Regions from separate parts of the Homo sapiens genome. Here region 2 is linked to region 1. Evidence: promoter capture Hi-C in 16 types of primary human blood cells and fetal thymus (Javierre and others, 2016). All regions are on one chromosome and are shown on one strand. The core of a region is centred on a gene start or on the middle of the fragment in contact, and the rest is flanking DNA. Distances in the headings are between cores, read along the strand shown.

Region 1 (3,442 bases), core at 273-2,772:
CTTTACTTCATCAAAGCTGTTATGGGGAGCATTACTTTAAAAAAAAAATCCAGTGCTGGTTCTCTCAATACCTAGAACAGTGCCTGGCACGAAGTTGACACTCAATATAGTACAAAGAATACTTTATATTTAATCTTCTCATTAGCCCTATCAATAGAGATTTATCATCTTCAATTTGGAAATGACGAGACTGAGGTTCAGATATAAGCAACTCATCCAAGGTGGAATGAGGACAGAAACTTGGGTCTCGCTATGTCAAAGATCCTTATTCTTATTCTTAACCACTATACTGCACGGTTTTCTGATAAACGGCAGTATGGTTAAGTGGGTAAGAGCTTGGACCCGAGAACAAAACTGTGCAGGTTCAAATCCCACCACAGCTGCTTGGCATCTGTGACCCACCTGAGTTGTCTGGGTTTGGTATTCCTCCCTATTTTCATCCCTAAAGTAGGGAAACTAAGTACCGACCTCCAGACCCCTGCGGGGAAGGAGTAAGGACAGGACGCTAATAAACGTAACCTCTGGGAAGGTTTGTTATTACTTGACAACATGTTTTCTGCCAACGTAAGCGGGTAATGACGCTAAGCCACAAGTCAAACGCTGCAAGCAGGAGCGTCACCCGGTTTCTACTGAGCCGTCACCACAACCCTATGAGGTAGGAATTTCTATTATCTCTATTTCACAGATGAGGAAACTGTGGAGATCGCTAAGATCTCTTCTTTCCGCCTCCAAGCCCAAGGAATTCTAAAGCTAACCCAAAGGAACGACCTTGTTTGTTTACTGACACCTCCTCGGACCGAATGGTCAGGGCTGTATCCGGAACACAGAGTTGGCTCGGTAAACACTGAATGGTTGCCTGAATAAATGAATGAGGAATCCCTGGCCTCGCCGGGCAGAGGCTAATCCGGTTCAGCTGCGAAGTGGGGGCTCCGGCAGGCGCAGGTGCCCTCCCTGCCCATCGGGGCGGGCCGCCGATCCCGAGCCTCGCTGTCCAATGGGTTTCTGCTCCCTCGCGGGTGGTCAGGCCCCCCTTCTCACGCCCACCACGCAGTCCCTGCCGCGAGCCGCCACTACACCCGACGCGCGGACAGGTGTTTCTTCCGTAGGAGGCCTCCCAGGCCCGGATAGGGCAGGTCGGCTGGACCCTGAGTCACCGCCGCCAGCGTCGGCCGCGGCCTCCCCAACTCCCAGGTGTCAGGTCAAGGAAGTCAGAGTCCGGGGTCGGCCTGGAGCCGGCTGCCCCTCCTCCCCGCCCGAGTCCCGAGAGGCCTCCAGCTGCTAGGCACAGCGCGGCGCGGGCCTCCTTGGCCTACTCGGGAATCTAGCCCAGGCCCACGTCGTGAGTGCGGTCCGGCTCAAGCCCCAGCTCGGGCACTGCCAAGACGGGACTCACCTCTCCGCGGGGGCCGAGCGCGGACGGCGGCAACGGCCCAGTTACCCGCGGGCTGCAGAGACGGCGGCGGCCCGGCTCTCCTCTCAGGCGGCGGCCATGTTGCTGGTGGAGAAACTCCGGCGGACACGTGGGGGGGAGCGGGCCGGCCCCAGCGTTTCCTCTTACCCACAATGCCCCGCCCCGGTGCACGCGGCTCCGCCCCCTCCGCCGCGCCATTCATGCAGGCCGTGAGCCCCGCCCTGCAGCAGGGGGCGCTGATGGCACGCGCAAAACTGAGCCAGGAGTGTATGCAGCGGGGACAAAAAGACAGCAACCCTGGCAGCGGTGGGATTCGAACCCACGCCCCCGAAGAGACTGGAGCCTTAATCCAGCGCCTTAGACCGCTCGGCCACGCTACCCAGCTGCAATATGTTTATGCCAGAAAGCTACTTAATGCTTTTGCTTTTGCATTTAATCTGGACATTGCGAGGCGTTTTCGCTGAGGTTTTTTTTTTGCTTAACGTGTGTTCAAGGTGATCCCTATAGAATTATTTTAAAAAGCCGTGTTTTGGAAAATAAACACTTGCTCCAGTCTTTAGACCCAGGTTGGTTCCGAATAGGTATTAGAGCAAAACGCATTTTTAGAAACTTTACTCTGAGTTGGATGGTTAACCCGGAGACCCCTGGTTAACCCACAGGTAATCCATACGACCCGGATTGGGTGTCTCCGGGAGAAGAAATTGATCTGATCAGAAACATGCACCAGGGGATCTGACGGCCAAACCCTGGAGCTGGTCTGGGCAGTTGTCTCTGAAAAATTATGTTTAAATTTTTACTTACACAAATAACACGCGAATTATTGCAAAATATTTAAACTTTGCAGATAAGGTACAAATGCTCTTTGACCTTGACTCGCATCCTAGGCCCCTCCGCCGAGGTAACTAACCATTATTATCTGTTTAATATGAACTATGGTTTGAATGTGTCCCCCAAATTTCATGTGTTGGAAATTTAATCCCCAATGTGGCAGTATTGTGTGGTGGGCCCTTTAAGAGGTGATTAGATCATGAGGGTGGAGCCCTTATGAATGGATTAATCTCTTCATGGATTCATGGATTAATGGGTTAATGGATTAATGGGTTATCTTGGGAGGGGGACTGATGGCTTTATAAGAAGAGGGAGAGAGACCTTAGCTAGCAAGGGAGCAGCTCAGCACCCCCTCCATATGATGGCTTGTACTGCCTGGGAACTCTGCAGGTGTCCCCCACCAGCAAGAAGGCCCTCACCAGATGCACACTCTTGACCTTGGACTTCTCAGACTCCATAACTGTAAGAAATAACTTCCTTTTCTTTACAAATTACCCAGTTTCAGGTATTCTGTTATAAGCAACAGAAAATGGACTAAAACACTATATATCTTTCTAGATCTTTTGCTGTGAATTTATATGTTTATATCTATATGGATATATATAGATATAGCCATAGAAGATAGCTTTGTTTTTATTGTGTATGGATTTGAACACAAATATTGTCACATTATTCATATAGATCTGCAATTGGCTGTTATTTTTCACCAGACTGTATTTTAAAATACCTATCCGTGTGGATATGCAAAGATATTAAAAACAAAAATGCACAAAAATTACAAAGAAAAAAATTATCATCCATAGTGCCACCACCTGGCATTAAATTAATGACTTAGTATTGTGGCATTTTTTTCCTTTTCTTTTTTCTTTTCTTTTTTTTTTTTTTTTTTTTTTTTTTTTTTGATGTGGAGTCTCGCTCTTGCTGTCTAGGCTGGAGTGCAGTGGTGCGATCTCCGCTCACTGCAATCTCTGCCTCCTGGGTTCAAGCGTCTCTACTAAAAATACAAAAATTAGCCTGGCGTGGTGGCACATGCCTGTAATCCCAGCTACTCGGGAGGCTGAGGCGGGAGAGTTGCTTGAACCCGGGAGGCGGAGGTTGCAGCGAGCCGAGATCCCACCACTGCACTCTAGCCTGGGCGACAGTGAGAAACTCGGTCTCAAATAAATAAATAAATAAATAAATAAATAAATAAATAAATAAATA
Region 2 (3,442 bases), core at 626-3,125, 1.0 Mb after region 1:
CATCCTGGTCCTAAATATGAAACACCCCCCACCCTTATCCCTCATAACTTGGATGCAACCCTTGTAAGGGAAAAGGAGGGTTGGAAGGAGCATGAACCTAAAATGCCTGAAAATTATTAGGGCAACCTGCCAAACTGTAGTCGCAAAAGAACAAATAGTTATTGGAAATTAAGCAATTACATGGTTCATAGCCCTGAATTATTAGAATTAAATTTATACTTACTATTTAATTTCAGCTCCTTTTCTAAAAAGCACTGAACTGCTTTAACTGAAACACTGTAATTTTCTTAATTGTACTTAAATATGTTTCTTTTCTTTTAAATTTTCTGCCTACTTTGCATAAAATGAGGTAGCCAAGACCACCTTAAAGTTCTCAGCTTGACTTGAAAAGGCTTTTTCCTGACTCTAGGCCCAAAACTTTCTTTTCTTAGAGCATGATATGGTTTGACTCTGTGTCCACACCCAAATCTCATCTTGTAGCTCCCATAATTCCCACGTGTTATGGGAGGGACCCTGTGAGTGATGACTGAATCATGGGGATGGGTTGTTCCCGTGCTCTTCTCATGATAGTGAGTAAGTCTCATAAGAACTGATGGTTTTCAAATGGGGAGTTTCCCTGCACAAGCTTTCTTGTCTGCCACTATGTGAGATATACCTTTCACCTTCTGCCGTGATTGTGAGGCCTCCTCAGCCACGTGGAACTGTAAGTCCAATAAACCTCTTTCTTTTGTAAATTGCCCAGTCTTGGGTATGTCTTTATCAGCAGTGTGAAAACAGATTAATACAGAGCATTTTCTTTAGAAAGCTTTTCACTGTAAATTCTTTCTCTGTCTTGAGATATCTGTAACTCTTTTTAATAGCCTCTTACTAGTTTTACAAACCAGAATCATCTTTGTCAAGGACCTGGGAGCCATTCCTTTGAAATGCAATCATCAAGGAAGACGGTCCCCCTATCTCCCAGTTTCTGTGGGAGGGTAGGAGCCTAACTTCCCTGAGAGCCAATTAGCAAACACAGCTGGCCTAATCACGGAGGAAACACTTGTAAACTCAGCAAACAACTCAGTATGCTTCCGACAGCCCTCCAGCACCTTTCTACTCTCATCCTAGAGCTTAAAAACCCTGCCCCACTTTGTTTCAGCAGAGTTAGTTTAGACTGAGTTCTGGTCTCTCTTCCCTAGGACAACAGCTTTGCATAAAGTATTCCTTACATATGTGACTTTCTCTGGTGTAATTTATGCTTTCACAAAGGAAAACTAAGACAAATTAAACTACCTATAATCACTGAACTTCCACAGCCCCTTCTGCCATTTATGGAACACTTAACATGTTCTCGCAATGTAAGTATCAGGACTGCCCTCTGAGTTGGATACAATAGCATCCTTTCCTCTTATAGTTATTTTCAGATATAAGCCTTAGGAAATGGAGGCTTAGAGAAACCAAGCAATTTGCCATAGGTCACAGCAAATAAATTCTGGACTAGTCAGGACTAGGGACAAGGCATTTGCCTCCAAAGTCAGTGCGTTCAAGCACTTTGCATAGCCAATATAAAATTCCTAACAGTGCTTCTATTTGATTTGATTGTGTGTATGTGTGTGTGGGTGTGTGTGTGTTGGCGGGGGGATGAGGAAGTCTCTGGAGGATTTATATGCGTGAGTTTTGTTTGGGGGTCGCCCTTTTGGGCTCTGCGCGCCCATCGCGGCTAGCGGGTGGGCCTCCCGGGCGTCGGGGAGCAGCTGCAAGCGCAGGGGGACGCCGGCAGAAGAAGGACGCGCCAGGACTCCCTAGCACGCACCCTCAGGCCTCGCCGCTGCCGCCTCCGCCTCCGCCGCTGAAGGGCGCGCGTCCACCCGGCGGGACTCCTCCTCCCAACGCCCTCCCCAACCACCAGCCGCCCGCGGGCAGGTTGGCAGCCTGGCCCTCGCGCGGACCCGGCCGGGAGCTGGCTGCACTAGGGCTGGGGGCGCGCAGTGCGCGGAGCGGTAGGAGTCAGCGGTGCGGAAGGCAGGAGGTGCGGGTGAAGCTGTCGGCGGTGCTCGAGGGGAGCACGCAAGAACCTCCTCAGTCCCTCTTCCGCACGTGCGCCCACGAGTGTAGTCCCCAGTTTGTTCCACCTATTATCCCGCAGCTCCAGTGCGCCCCACCTGTTGCCTCACCAGCCCAACGTTACTTCTTCCCTGCTTCCTCGCCAGCCCGTCTGGGGGCGGAGACCTCACCCACCGCCCCACCCACCTCGTCTCATGCTCCCACCCACCTCGTCCCATGCGCACACCCATCTCGTCCCTTGCGCTCACCCACCTCGTCCCATGCGCCCTACCCTATGCCCCAAGTCCCTGAAAGGGCCCCACCTAGGTACCCTTTTGGGTCGTCTTCAGGTTCTTTGCCTTGTCGACCCTCCTGGACGACCCCACATTTCTCCGCCTCTCGCGGGCTTCTCTCTCCCTCGTGTGCCATGGTCACCTTCAGCTGGCCCAGCCGCTGATGACAGAAGTTTAAGAAGATTCATGAGCCGCTGCTCCTCAGGGTCTACTGGAGTTTAGCAGATAACTTCCCAAAGGCCCGGGGTCCTGCAAACCCCTCATGCGGGCCACCCAAAAGATTCCGTCCTGGAGCAGACCCCGCGCCACGCGCGCTGTACTCGCGTTCCTTTTTCCAGCCAGCGCAGCCCTGCGGCTTCTGTCCGGGACGGTTCTGCGCGTGGGACGCCCAGCCCGCTTCATCTGCGCCCGCTGCCTTTACCCGCCAGCCACTCCGGCGTTTCCACCTCCGTGTATTTCTCATGCTCCCCACGTTCTATAATGCTTGCTCCTCTTGGCGCGCCCCACCCCAATTCTCGCATCCAGTGTGGCTTCCTGTTTAGAATCGCAGCTTCTGATTGGATCACAGGCCAAATTCACTCTTCCCTGCAATGCCGGATACGACTTGCTCCAGCTCCGAAGTTAAGCTTTGTCAGGAGAGGGCGCAAGAGGAACACTGCAGGACAAGGAGTTCTCTTCCTGGTTGGGGAAAAATCCAGGACTGTATAGAACATCCTCCGCCCCAAACTGGGAAAGGAGCCAACAGACCAAAGAATGACTCAGACCAGTCCAGCTTGATGAGTAGATGAGTTTATTGGGACTCACGTGTAGGGCATTTCTTTTTTTTTTCTTTTTCTGTTTTTTTTTTTTTTTTAAGAGGGAATCTCATGGCACCTCGTTTTCATCATCACTGGATGATTTCTCTGGGTTAGCAAAGGTCAGGAAGACTTGTTCCAGTGTGATCTGACAGAATAGTCTTCTAAATCAAATTGCTCTTTAGCTTGCTCCAAAATGCCAAACACCTTTAACAACAGCAATAAAAACACAGTTACCATTGCAATCTCCCCTTCAGCCCCCAACTCAGATGAGCCTCTCCTCCACTCCCCCACTCCTATCAAGTGTATGTTGGAGGACAAAAGGCACAGAAG

What was found. Contacts are between HindIII fragments. The CHiCAGO score rates a contact against its expected background, and 5 or more counts as called.
Region 2: a contact is called between a fragment that was not itself captured here and the fragment with the promoter of POLR3E in region 1, in 1 of 17 cell types (erythroblasts). The highest score is 5.1, in erythroblasts.

Annotation. Positions count from the first base shown.
Region 1 is chr16:22,295,489-22,298,930 of GRCh38, reverse strand. It overlaps POLR3E (RNA polymerase III subunit E), which reads right to left and starts at 1,522. Exons shown (of 21, transcript NM_018119.4): 1 at 1,394-1,522. It overlaps TRL-AAG2-4 (tRNA-Leu (anticodon AAG) 2-4), which reads right to left and starts at 1,791; the gene lies at 1,710-1,791. RefSeq lists silencers at 302-441, 1,452-1,901 and enhancers at 652-791, 1,234-1,778. The HindIII fragment of the contact is 19,375 bases long and covers 1-3,442 here.
Region 2 is chr16:21,300,239-21,303,680 of GRCh38, reverse strand. It overlaps a transcript of CRYM not described here and the pseudogene ABCA15P. Among named protein-coding and RNA genes, the nearest start is that of CRYM, 24 kb to the right of the region's middle. RefSeq lists an enhancer at 705-1,293 and a silencer at 1,736-1,995. The HindIII fragment of the contact is 2,136 bases long and covers 808-2,943 here.